2 separate regions of the Homo sapiens genome follow, and region 1 is linked to region 2. Evidence: promoter capture Hi-C in 16 types of primary human blood cells and fetal thymus (Javierre and others, 2016). All regions are on one chromosome and are shown on one strand. The core of a region is centred on a gene start or on the middle of the fragment in contact, and the rest is flanking DNA. Distances in the headings are between cores, read along the strand shown. Region 1 holds the start of H2AC14 (H2A clustered histone 14). Region 2 holds the start of H3C11 (H3 clustered histone 11).

Region 1 (6,394 bases), core at 2,348-4,847, 58 kb after region 2:
TCCAATATTGGCTTACACAATAGGCTATAACAGTGGGTTAGAGTTCTCCAAGTGCATGGGGAAAGTAAAATCAATTAGTGTATGGGTAAAACAACTCAATAAAGAACTTTTAAATATTGTTTTGCTAAGTATTCTGTGACCAAAATGTGAATTTTATCTCTTCTAAAATGACTGTACATACATATAAAGATTGTGTCGACCCCAAAATTCTGTTTTGTTCTATTAAAAATTAAAAATAGGGGCAGGGCACAGTGGCTCACACCTGTAATTCCAACATTTTGGAAGGCCAAGGCAGGAGGATCACTTGAGCACAGAAGTTTGAGAACAGCCTAGGCAACATGGTGAAACACTGTCTCCACCAAAAAAGATACAAAGATTAGCCCAGGGTGGTGGCCTGTGCCTGTAGTCCCAGCAACCCAGGAGGCTGAGGTGGGAGGATTGTTTGAGCTTGGGGAAGCCAAGGTGCAGTGAGCCATGATTGTGCCACTGCACTCCAGCCTGGGCAACAGAGTGAGACCTTGTCTCAAAAATAATAATCATAAACAATTTTGCCAAGATTTCTGGATAGTATTTTCCTAATTTTTTTTTTTCTTTTAGATGTAGTCTTGCTCTGTCACCAGGCTGGAGTGCGGTGGTGTGATCTCAGCGCACTGCAACCTCTGCCTCCTGGATTCAAGCAATTCTCCTGCCTCAGCCTCCCAAGAAGCTGGGATTACAGGCGCATACCACCACACCCTGGTAATCTTTGTATTTTTGTAGAGATGAGGTTTCACCATGTTAGCCAGGATAGTCTCAAACTTCTCACCTCAAGTAATCTGCCTGCCTTGGCCTCCCAAATTTCTGGGATTACAGGCATGAGCCACCGCACTCAGCCTAATTTTTTAAAAAAATCTTTTGAGCTTTAATTTGTTTCTAACATGATACTCCTGTATCAAGAATAGATGCTTCATCTAATGAGATTGTATTGTTCGGGCTCAGAAACCGATTCCCCAAAATATGGAGCTTTGACATACTGAACTGAAGAAGAGTACTCAAGGTCTTTCGGACCTTCCCCCTATTCCTCTCTCTCATTTCTCTATCTGAAAGCAGAGAATGAAGTTGTTCTCTGAAATTCCCTTATCTCTCTAAAGTATAGACCTGCCAAAGAAGAAAACAATTACCTCTGGTCTCTTCTCTGAGTTTTCATTAACTGAAAACTCATATCGCAAGAAGACTGAAGTCTGTCAACACACGGAGACAAACCTTTGCCACAAATCATTGTCTGGTCTGTGGGCCAAACAGACTTTGTCCTAGGCTGTTATGTTATTCAAGCCTATTGAATTCCCCTAAAAATCACTTAATACCCCTGTAAAATCATCCACACTTCCCCAACTCCCTTTTCCCTGAGAAGAAGGGTATGTAATCATCTGTATTCTATTGCATGGGGCGTGGGGGGGAGGGGGAGGGAGTAATCACTGATTCTCCCCCATGCACATTAATAAATTTGTATGCCTTTTCTCCTATTAATCTGCCTTTTGTGAGTTGACTTTTCACCAAACCTTCAGAGGACAAAGGGGAAGTTTTCCTTTGGATTCTACAGTTTCAATAGACAACCAAAAGTTAAAGTTAAAGTTGGGAATTATTTAAATATGCTTCACTCTTTGAATGTATTATTCTTACTTAATCTATTAACATGTATATGTCTTTGCTAACGTTTTGATAATTTATTGAATGGAATCCTAAATTGGAAATTCCTAGCATAAATCACACATATGTTAGAAAGTATTTTTCAGGTTGGGTTTCTTTAAAGAAGTGTGAGGATTCAAAGGCTCTGGAAAAGCAATCTCAGTGCAGATGCCTTTTGAATCCTTCCAGGTATCTGAGTTTTCTCACAATTTTAAAAATTGATTTAAACATAACTAGAATATTTCTGGCAATTTAACTGTAACACATCTACAGAACACTCACTAGGTATTCACAGTGATATTAAGAGCAATTATTTTTTCCAGTTCATTTTCTTTGATTTACCTGATTTTTTTTGAGACAGAGTCTTGCTCTGTTGCCCAGGTTAGTGCAGTGGCGCGATCACGACTCGGTTCACTGCAACCTCTGCCTCCCGGGTTCAAGCGATTCTCCTGCCTCAGCCTCCCGAGAAGCTGGTGTTACAGGCACGTGCCACTGCACCCGTTTAATTTTTTGTATTTTTAGTACAGACGGGGTTTCACCACGTTGGCCAGGCTAGTCTCAAACTCCTGATCTCAAGTGATCCGCCCGCCTCTGACTCCCAGAGTGCTGGGATTACAGGCGTGAGCCACCACGCCTGGACTAACCCTCCACATATTTATTTATGACTTTACCTATAACTTCTGCTTCCCTAAAATGTACAAAACAGTTGCATTCTGACTGCCTCAGAACCACTTTCTCATGGTCTCGGGGGATTGTGTCTTCCCTAAGCCACGGTCACTCATAGTTGCTAATAATCCTCTTTAAAATATTTTGGGCCGGGCGCAGTGGCTCACACCTGTGATCCCAACACTGGGAGGCCGAGGCAAGTGGACCACCTAAGGTCAGGAGTTCGATACCAGTCTGGCCAACGTGGTGAAACCCCGTATCTACTAAAAATACAAAAAGTAGCAGGGCCTGGTGCCACATGCCTGTGGTCCCACCTACTCGAGAGGCTGAGGCAGAAGAATCGCTTGAACCCGGAAGGTGGAGATTGCAGTGAACCGAGATCGTGCCATTGCACTCCAGGGTGGGCAACAAAGTGAGACTACACCTCAAAAACAACAACAAAAAACAAAAAAAAACCCACATATACAAGTACATTTATATGTACGAAGCGAGTCCCAAAGGGTACCTAATGGGAGACAAACTTAACAGTGAACTGGCTCTTTCTTGAGAAACGTGGACGGCTCTGAAAAGAGCCTTTGGGGTGTGGGTCACGGCGGAACTGTTACTGCAGCGAGAGGCTCACTTGGAGCTGGTATACTTGGTGACGGCCTTGGTGCCCTCGGACACGGCGTGCTTGGCCAATTCCCCGGGTAGCAGTAGGCGCACGGCCGTCTGGATCTCCCTCGAAGTGATGGTCGAGCGCTTGTTGTAATGCGCCAGGCGTGACGCTTCTCCGGCGATACGCTCAAAGATGTCGTTGACGAAGGAGTTCATGATTCCCATAGCCTTGGAAGAGATGCCGGTGTCGGGGTGGACCTGCTTCAGCACCTTGTACACATACACAGAGTAGCTCTCCTTGCGGCTGCGTTTGCGCTTCTTTCCATCCTTCTTCTGAGCCTTGTTAATGGCCTTCTTGGAGCCTTTTTTAGGGACTGGAGCAGATTTGACTGGTTCAGGCATGGTGGAAAACAAAATAAAAGACAACCTTAGGGCTGTTTCGTCCTCTTTATTTAAATGTTATTATGCAAATTAGGAGTAGAATAGGTCAGTGCTGATTGGTGATTATCCGTGGATGACGTCAGATGCCAGTTTTGCCCAATCAAAATAGGTATCCTGCATACTCGAGTCCTATTGGTCTAAATAAAAATAAAACGTAAGCCAATCGCACAGCTTCCTTTTCGCGCCCAGTAGAGGCTATAAAATGTACGTTTTTCCAATTTCATTTCAGTCTTTCTTGACCGTAAAGGTAATAGACCTTTTGCCATGTCTGGGCGTGGTAAGCAGGGAGGCAAAGCTCGCGCCAAGGCCAAGACCCGCTCTTCTCGGGCCGGGCTTCAGTTTCCCGTAGGCCGAGTGCATCGCCTGCTCCGCAAAGGCAACTATGCGGAGCGGGTCGGTGCTGGAGCGCCGGTGTACCTGGCGGCGGTGCTGGAGTACCTGACCGCCGAGATCCTGGAGCTGGCTGGCAACGCGGCCCGCGACAACAAGAAGACTCGCATCATCCCGCGTCACCTCCAGCTGGCCATCCGCAACGATGAGGAGCTCAACAAGCTTCTGGGCAAAGTCACCATCGCACAGGGTGGCGTCCTGCCCAACATCCAGGCCGTGCTGCTGCCAAAGAAAACTGAGAGCCACCACAAGACTAAGTAAAGACCGAGTTGAAAAGCGCATAAAAACAAAGGCTCTTTTCAGAGCCACTTCAACAATCATAAAAAGATGACACGAGTCCGTTTTCAGCTGCTTCACCACTACACAGTACACTCATGATGTTTCGGTGTTAATCTTTAACCTGTTTACATTGCCTGAATTTCAAGGTTTTTTTTTTTTTTTTTTTTCTTAATGTAGATACTAACAAGGTACGTTTGCTAACACGTGTTTTCAGGGGTTTTACCTTGGTGGCCAGGCTGGTCTCTGACTCGACCTCAGGTAATCCACCCGCCTAGGCCTCCCAAAGTGCTGGGATTACAGGCGTGAGCCACTGCGCCAGGCCAGTTTGTGGTATCTTGAAGGCATTTTACTGGGACACAACTTTGACAAAAGTCAAAGCCTCTTACTGGGAGTTACATAGTAGGTACTGGTGGGTTTTATTTATGATTCTGGGAAACTCACTGGGCTGTAAGGAATATAGTATAGTATTCGGTTTTTAATATGCTTACTAGAAAAAGTATATGGATTGCTACTAGACAGTGTGTTTCTCTACAGTTTCACAGTCTCTAGATTGAAAACTGAGGGTAGAGTCCTCAGCCCTATTTCCTGGCCTCTAGGAAAGGAGCTGCTCAATGGGTATATTTAAACAAAACCAGACAGTTTTATGTTTACCAATGTATACATTGGTCATGTTTTGTTTTCTATTTTTAATTTTTGCACTTACAAGAGTTTGGAATAAAAAAAAATTGGCCTTAGAAGTTTTCTAATTAAGGGTCTTTCAAACATATACATGTTCGGCAGTGACCCAATAATTACATGTATTTATGTTAGTGTACTGCTGAAATCACATGTTAATAATAGTTAACTTCATTGTATGTGTTCTGATATTTTTCTGTTTAATTCTGTATGTAATTAACCTTTTTGTACCTGGGTGTTATGTTACAAATGTATCCTGTAAACACTTACAATTAGTAAGTGAGTTAAATACTTAGTAACTGCTGGATAAGTAGATGGCCAAGCATAGTAGTCCAAGCTGGTGATGTTCGATGGTAAGGTTGGTTCTGAATACTTATTGATTCCAAGAGCACTAGTGGGTGAATACCTACACTCAGAAAAAAATATCTCTTCTGAGAAAAGCCAAAGGCTATTTTGAGAATAGTGAGGTCAGTTCCTCATGTTATCTTTTTTTTTTTTTTTTTTTTTTTTTGAGACAGGGTCTCGCTTTGTCACCCAGGCTGGAGGACAGTGGTACGATCTCGGCTCATTGCAACCTCCAACTTCTGGACACAAGCGATTCTCCCAACGCAGCCTCCTGAGTATCTGGGACCACAGGCACACGCCACCACGTTTGGCTAATTTTATTTTTTGGAGAGATGGGGTTTCGCCACATTGCCCAGGCTGGTTTCCAACTCCTGGACTCAAGCGATCCACCTGCCTCGGCCTCCCAAAGTGCTTGGATTACAGGCATGAGCCACCGCGCCCGGCCTGTTGTCCATATTTCTGTATGGGCATATCAAGGTCCTTTTATTTTGGGCCTTGAAAAGGATTGTTATGCCACTTATGAGTTTTGCCATCTCAGGAAATTCAGACACAAGAATTATGTCCTTTTTTTTAAATTTATTTATTTTTTGTTTGTTTTGTGTTTTTGAGATGGAATCTCCCTCTGTTGCCCAGGCTGAACTGCAGTGGCGTGATCTCGGCTCACAGCAACCTCCACCTCCCGAGTTCAAGCGATTCTCCTGCCTCAGCCACCAGAGTAGCTGGGACTACAGGCACATGCCACCACACCTGGCTAAATTTTTTGTATTTTTAGTAAAGACGGGGTTTTACCATGTTGGTCAGGCTGGTCATGAACTCCTGACAAATGAGCTGAGTTGGATGGTTACCAGACTATTGTAATTCAGTACATGGAGTGTTTTGAAAAGACATAGAGTATTCATTTCCACATAACTAGAACTACTCACTGTCCCTTAAATAAATAATTCCTCATGTAATTATAACTGGAAATTTAACTGGGAGTATCTTGGCTGCATATCTCCAGGAGAGGATGCCCTACCCAGCCAGCAAGAGTATTGATTAGTACATACCAGGCAGTCTCTGTGTGAGCCCTTCCTGATTTATTACTAGCTCTTAGTTTCCCAGCACAGAAAGAAGGAATGCACTATTTACACACTCAACAATATCCATCGGTTTAGCAGTTGGGCCCCTAAGTGTCCTAGAGGCACTGCTTCCCTCCAAAATAGTGTATCTTCCTTTCCAGAAGAAAGCTAATTTCTGAGAGGGGAAAAACTCTATTTTGTTTTGCTTACGGTGTTGATTCCAATTAAAAGTATTAAAGCATTATTTTAATTTGTAAAATATTAATCATAAATTATTT
Region 2 (5,776 bases), core at 107-2,606:
CATCATTTTTAGAAACTGGAGTTTAAGTACCCCCTTTTCCATTTTTTCCTGAAGTCGTGGGCAGGGCGCAAGGTCTGTGAATCGGCCGACCGGATGCAGCTGGTGTGGAGAGTTCCCAATCAGGTCCGATTTATTACTATATAAAGTACTGCTGCGAGGCTTGCCGTGTTGCATTTTGTTTAGTACAAGACATGTCTGGGCGCGGCAAAGGCGGGAAGGGTCTGGGCAAAGGAGGCGCTAAGCGCCACCGCAAAGTTCTGCGCGACAACATTCAGGGCATCACCAAGCCCGCCATCCGACGCCTGGCACGGCGTGGAGGCGTTAAGCGCATCTCAGGCCTTATATACGAGGAGACACGCGGAGTTCTTAAAGTGTTTTTGGAGAATGTAATCCGCGATGCAGTTACCTACACGGAGCACGCCAAACGCAAGACAGTCACAGCCATGGACGTGGTTTACGCGCTCAAGCGCCAGGGCCGCACCCTGTATGGCTTTGGCGGCTGAGTGTTTTACTTACTTACACGGTTCCTCAAAGGCCCTTCTCAGGGCCACCCATGAAGTCTGTGAAAGAGCTGTAGACTAAAGATAGTTAATTTCTTAAGAACACTTAAACGTATGGCAGTTTTGGCAAATTAGCGATTCCACATAAGCAGTCGCTGAAGTTTGAGGTTCGGTGCCCCTTTCAGCATTACTTAGTGGTTAAAAGTGCCGGCTTCTCTGATACACGGCCAAATCTATAACGCCTCTCTGGTTTTTGCAAAAGTCATAATGAAACAGCCGGTCTCATTTATCTTGTATCGATTACTTTACCGCTACCAATGCGAGGGCTGTGTAACTATGACACTGTGGTCCGCAACGCCCAAAATGTTTTAATATCGCCCTTTACAGAAAAAGTCGGCCAACTTCTAAAACATTAAGTACGTTTAAATTTGAGAAATACTGGCATACCACAACGCTCGAATTTCATATCCCCTTCAATGCCTCCATTTACAAATTTACTCTAGTTTCACTTTTCCTTTACGTTCTTTAACTTTTTGTCAAATCAGTAATGACACCTCGTAATTAAAATAGTGCAAGGCAAGTTTAGATTTATCAAGCTTATATTTAAACAGGATTTTGATGCATGAAAAATCCTAGACTTTTGGGGGATTTTTTTTTGTTTCCGTTTTTGTTTTTCTTTAGCTAGCAAAACCATTTTACGTTTCTTGACCCAAAACAGAGGCGGAATGTCTCCCTTTCACTAGCAGATTAAACTGGGAGCCAATTCCGTGTGTGAGACGTGGCATGGCACAGTCTACTGTCCAATCAGAACGCGAGGGCAGCTATAAATACCGGGATGATCAGTTTTTTTCTCTCATTTGTGTTGAGTAGGTACGTCTACTTAGCCATGGCACGAACAAAGCAAACAGCTCGCAAGTCCACCGGCGGCAAAGCGCCGCGCAAGCAGCTGGCCACCAAGGCGGCTCGCAAGAGCGCTCCGGCCACCGGTGGCGTCAAGAAGCCCCACCGCTACCGCCCCGGCACCGTGGCCCTGCGCGAGATCCGCCGCTACCAGAAGTCGACCGAGCTGCTAATCCGGAAGCTACCTTTTCAGCGCTTGGTACGGGAGATCGCACAGGACTTTAAGACCGATCTGCGCTTCCAGAGCTCGGCGGTGATGGCGCTGCAGGAGGCTTGCGAGGCCTACCTGGTGGGGCTATTTGAGGATACCAACCTGTGCGCCATTCACGCCAAACGCGTCACTATTATGCCTAAAGACATCCAGCTTGCGCGCCGCATCCGAGGGGAGAGGGCATAAATATTCCTATCAGCCCAAGAAGTCTGTCCAACCCCAAAAGGCTCTTTTCAGAGCCCCTCAATTGTCACCAAAAGGAAGCTGTAGCTTTTGAGACGTGTCTTAGCTCCATGTTAAATACAAGCTGTGGACAAAACGTGGTAGTGGCCCAACACACTATAATGCAGGAGTCAGGTCACAGGCTGTTGGTATGCTAAATCAATTTCACATACAGAACCTGTTCCTACTGATAAGGATTATCACTCAAAAAAGACATGTCATGGGGTCAATTTTACAGATGAAGTTTAGTTTTGAAAAGTATTCCTGTTTTTATCCTTGAGGAATGTGTCTCCTGCGTATCTACCTGCCCCTACTGAAGGGAACAAGTAGCACAATGAGTGTCCACAGGCTCTGGTGAGGCCGAGGCAGGCGGATCACAAGGTCAGGAGATCAAGACCATCCTGGCTAACACGGTGAAACCCCCCTGTCCACTAAAAAAAAGACTGCCGGCCGTGGTGGCACGCGCCTGTAGTCCCAGCTACTCGGGAGGCTGAGGCAGGAGGATCGCTTGAACCTGGCAGGCAGAGGTTGCAGTGAGCCGAGATCGCGCCACTGCCCTCCAGCCTGGGCTACAGAGCGAGACTCCGCCTCAAAAATACAAAAAACAACAGGCTCTAAAAACTACACACATGAGAGTGGAACAATAGACAATAAGGACTCAGAAGGGAGGAAAGAATGAATGATAAGTTACTTAATTGGTACAATGTAAGCTATTTAGCTCTTGTATAGCCCATGTAACTTGACCACCTTGGAGCATATGCACATAACAAAGTTGCCATCGTACCCCATGCAAGTAACAGTTTTGACAAAAAGCTCGACACTTTTGTTCTGTTTCAATGTAATGTTTAGCAAGCCATGTGTTAGGTAGTGGGCCTCTGAGGAGGGATACTTTAACCTACTGCATGCTGTCATCTATGAAATGAACTTCTAGCTCTAAGTGGACCTTAAAAAATATTTTCCTGTCATTTCACCATATGCTTGTCATAGACTGTGGAGTTGGATTTTCATGAGATTTTTTCTTTCTTTTTTTTTTTCAGAGAGAATCAGTCTGGGTATTAAACTTCAAGTGGTATTTTAAAGCTCTTCCTGGTTTCTAACCAAACTTTTCCATTATTTCCAGCTGTTTTAGAGTTTCCTCATGTGCTCTACATATGTGACTATCATGACCTCATTTTGCTCTTAAACTTTTTGAAGCACACATCTTGACCTAGGAGATATCTGGCAGAGATGTGAAGGCAATTTTTCTCCCTAGTGCTCTCAGCCAGCTCAGCCTCATATCTGTGCCTTCCTTTCTCATATTGGATTCACTCTTGCAAAGAGGCATGTATCCCAGCAACTGGTGCAGCGGTGTCCGATCTTTTGTCTTCCCTGGGCCACGTTGGAAGAAGAATTGTCTTGGGCCACACCTAAAATACAGGATCACTAAAGATAGCTGACGAAAGAAAACAAAGGAAGGAAGGAAGGAAGGGAGGAAGGAAGGAAAAAGGAAGGGCGCAGTGGCTCACATCTGTAATCCCAGCACTTTGCATTTTGGGAGGCCGATGCGGGCGAATCACGAGGTCAGGAGTTCCAGACCAGCCTGGCCAACATGGTGAAGCCACGTCTCTACTAAAAATACAAAAAATTAGCTGGGCATAGTGGCAGGCGCCTGTAGTCCCAGCTCCTTGGGAGGCTGAGGTTGCAGTGAGCCGAGATCACGCTACTGCACTCCAGTCCTGGTGACAGAGTGAGACTCTGTCTCAAAAAAAAAAAAAAAAAAAAAAAAGGAAGGAAGGGAAAGAAAGAAAAGTCTGTGCATAATTTTTGTGATATCCACCATCACAGATGAACAAAAAAGTCCTCACATTCAAAGGGTTGGATACAGGTATAAAGTTTTTGGAAACTTAAGATTTGATTCAGAAAAACAAACAACAAAAAAACACTTTTGATCCATGGGGCCAGAAGCCTCTTCCCACAATTAACTTAGAGCTCTTTTAGTGGCTGTTTGCTAGGTGTAGGAACAACTTGACACTGCCTCTTCCAAGCTTTGAAGATAGTTCTCTTCTCACCTCTTCAAGGATTTTCCCTCCATAATAGAGCTGAGGCCATGTTTCTAGGTTTAAAATTTAGAGCTGCCACTTCATAGCTGTATAACCTTTGACAAGTTATTAATTCTCTATCTGGGCCTCATCTTGTATAGCTGTAAATGTAGCAAATTAATAGAAACCTGTAGAACATATTTAAGATTACTTCCTGTCAGGTAGTAAATGCTGAATGAGTGTCAGCTCTTATTGTTATACCCTGGCTCCATTACACATGGAGTTTTGGGGTTTTTTTCTCCTGGACCTTCTAAGTTTTGTGTTTGGAACAGTGGAAAGTGCTTGGTTAGATCATTTGCTCATGAAGATCTCCTTTTCTTTAGTTCTCAATTTGCATTGTTCGGTAAGAGGCCTATACAATATCTGTGTCTCTGTGGAGAAATTTATAACACAGCAAAAGGGCTAGGTAATAAATAGCTTAGGGTTTAAAGGCCATATATAGTCTCTGTCACACACTCTTTAGTTTTTAGTTAGTTTGCTTTTTCGAGACAGGATCTTGCTCCATTGCCCTGGCTGGAGTGCAGTGCTGCTATCATTGCTCACTGCAGCCTTGACACCCTGAATTCAAGTGATCCTCCCACCTCAGCCTCCCGAGTAGCTGAGACTACAGGCATGTGCCACCACATCCAGCAAAATGTTTTGTATTTTTATTAAAGATGGGGTTTTACCAAGTTGCCCAAGCTGGTCTCCAACTCCTGAGCTCAAGCAACCCACCTATCCCAGTGTCCCCAAGTGCTGAGATTACAGACATGAACCACCGTGCCCAGCCTTTGTTTTTGTTTTTTTTTTTTTTAACAATACTTTTAAAACATAAAGACACTTCTTAGCTTGAGGGCCATACAGAAAAAAGCCATTGTCCAGATTTGGCCATAGTCTGCCAACTTCTCCAGGAGTTCTTAGAAGATGAAGTGCATTGGCTACTTTAAATTTTCTTGCACAGCATTTCAAGAATGAGAAATAAGTGACTGTTGATTTCATTAGGAATCCAAATCATCATTTGATCATTTTTATCATCCAGGCATCCTGTCCAATCCCCTCCACCTCCCATAAATTGTAAACTTCATTTATTTCAACCTCAGTGTATTTGCCTATGTTTTCCTGAGTTCCTCTGAACCTCTATAATGTGAAGTCGCTCAATATCCAATCCAACCTTTTCACAGTCAATAGCCAGATATTCTTCTAAAATATTAGCGCTAAAACACACAAAAATACCCATATTGATGTATCCTGGCTGCTCATAGAAGAGAGTATTCCTGATGGTGCAGCTTGTTAAATGTGGGTGGAGATTCAGGGGGAGCAGTGAGAACATTTCGAAAACCTGACAGTGTCCTGGGCCACCTAAACAGTTTGTGCATTTGAGGATCACTGGGAGCTCTTGAATAATTTTCCACAAGTTTGAGTTTTCTCTAAACTGAATTATCTATATTATTTTTCTTCCCCTTTTTTAATGGATTTGCCCAGGAACTAAAAAGAGAAAACACTCTAATTAGAAAACATAACACATTTAAGTTTGAATGTGAATCTGAGTAGTTAGATCCTTAAGTCAAAGCGATTTGTATTACTGGTGCTGCAATGCAGAAGAAGTCACTCTGACTGTGGAACTCTTCCAAGCTGCAAAATCCCATTCTGTAAAGACATTAGCACATGGAAACTCCTAGGACACAGAACCAGTTTGTAAAGTCAAGTCTATGTGGTTAAGTTGGGGCTGTAGGCAACCAGCTGTCCTGTGCCTGTGTTACTTGCTACAGTTAGAAACAAACTTCATGCCCAAACCAAGGAACCCAGTGTCTTTTCTCTTGCAAAAATCAAAGCATGAACTCATGGGCAAATTTTTAAAAATAACTTTCACTGGATACTTAGTAGAA

The links. Contacts are between HindIII fragments. The CHiCAGO score rates a contact against its expected background, and 5 or more counts as called.
Region 1: a contact is called between the fragment with the promoter of H2AC14 here and the fragment with the promoter of H3C11 in region 2, in 1 of 17 cell types (megakaryocytes). The highest score is 5.3, in megakaryocytes.

The regions. Positions count from the first base shown.
Region 1 is chr6:27,811,980-27,818,373 of GRCh38, reverse strand. H2AC14 (H2A clustered histone 14) reads left to right here and starts at 3,597. Exons shown (of 1, transcript NM_021066.3): 1 at 3,597-4,072. The coding sequence starts at 3,634. The coding sequence ends at 4,020. It overlaps H2BC14 (H2B clustered histone 14), which reads right to left and starts at 3,352. Exons shown (of 1, transcript NM_003521.3): 1 at 2,885-3,352. The coding sequence starts at 3,330. The coding sequence ends at 2,950. RefSeq lists enhancers at 2,694-2,743, 2,834-2,893, 3,004-3,123, 3,814-3,963. The HindIII fragment of the contact is 4,109 bases long and covers 1-3,923 here.
Region 2 is chr6:27,867,926-27,873,701 of GRCh38, reverse strand. It overlaps H3C11 (H3 clustered histone 11), which reads left to right and starts at 1,356. Exons shown (of 1, transcript NM_003533.3): 1 at 1,356-1,857. The coding sequence starts at 1,387. The coding sequence ends at 1,797. It overlaps H4C13 (H4 clustered histone 13), which reads left to right and starts at 168. Exons shown (of 1, transcript NM_003546.3): 1 at 168-554. The coding sequence starts at 192. The coding sequence ends at 503. RefSeq lists enhancers at 18-187, 488-537, 1-606, 2,522-3,159, 3,160-3,799. The HindIII fragment of the contact is 2,761 bases long and covers 1,099-3,859 here.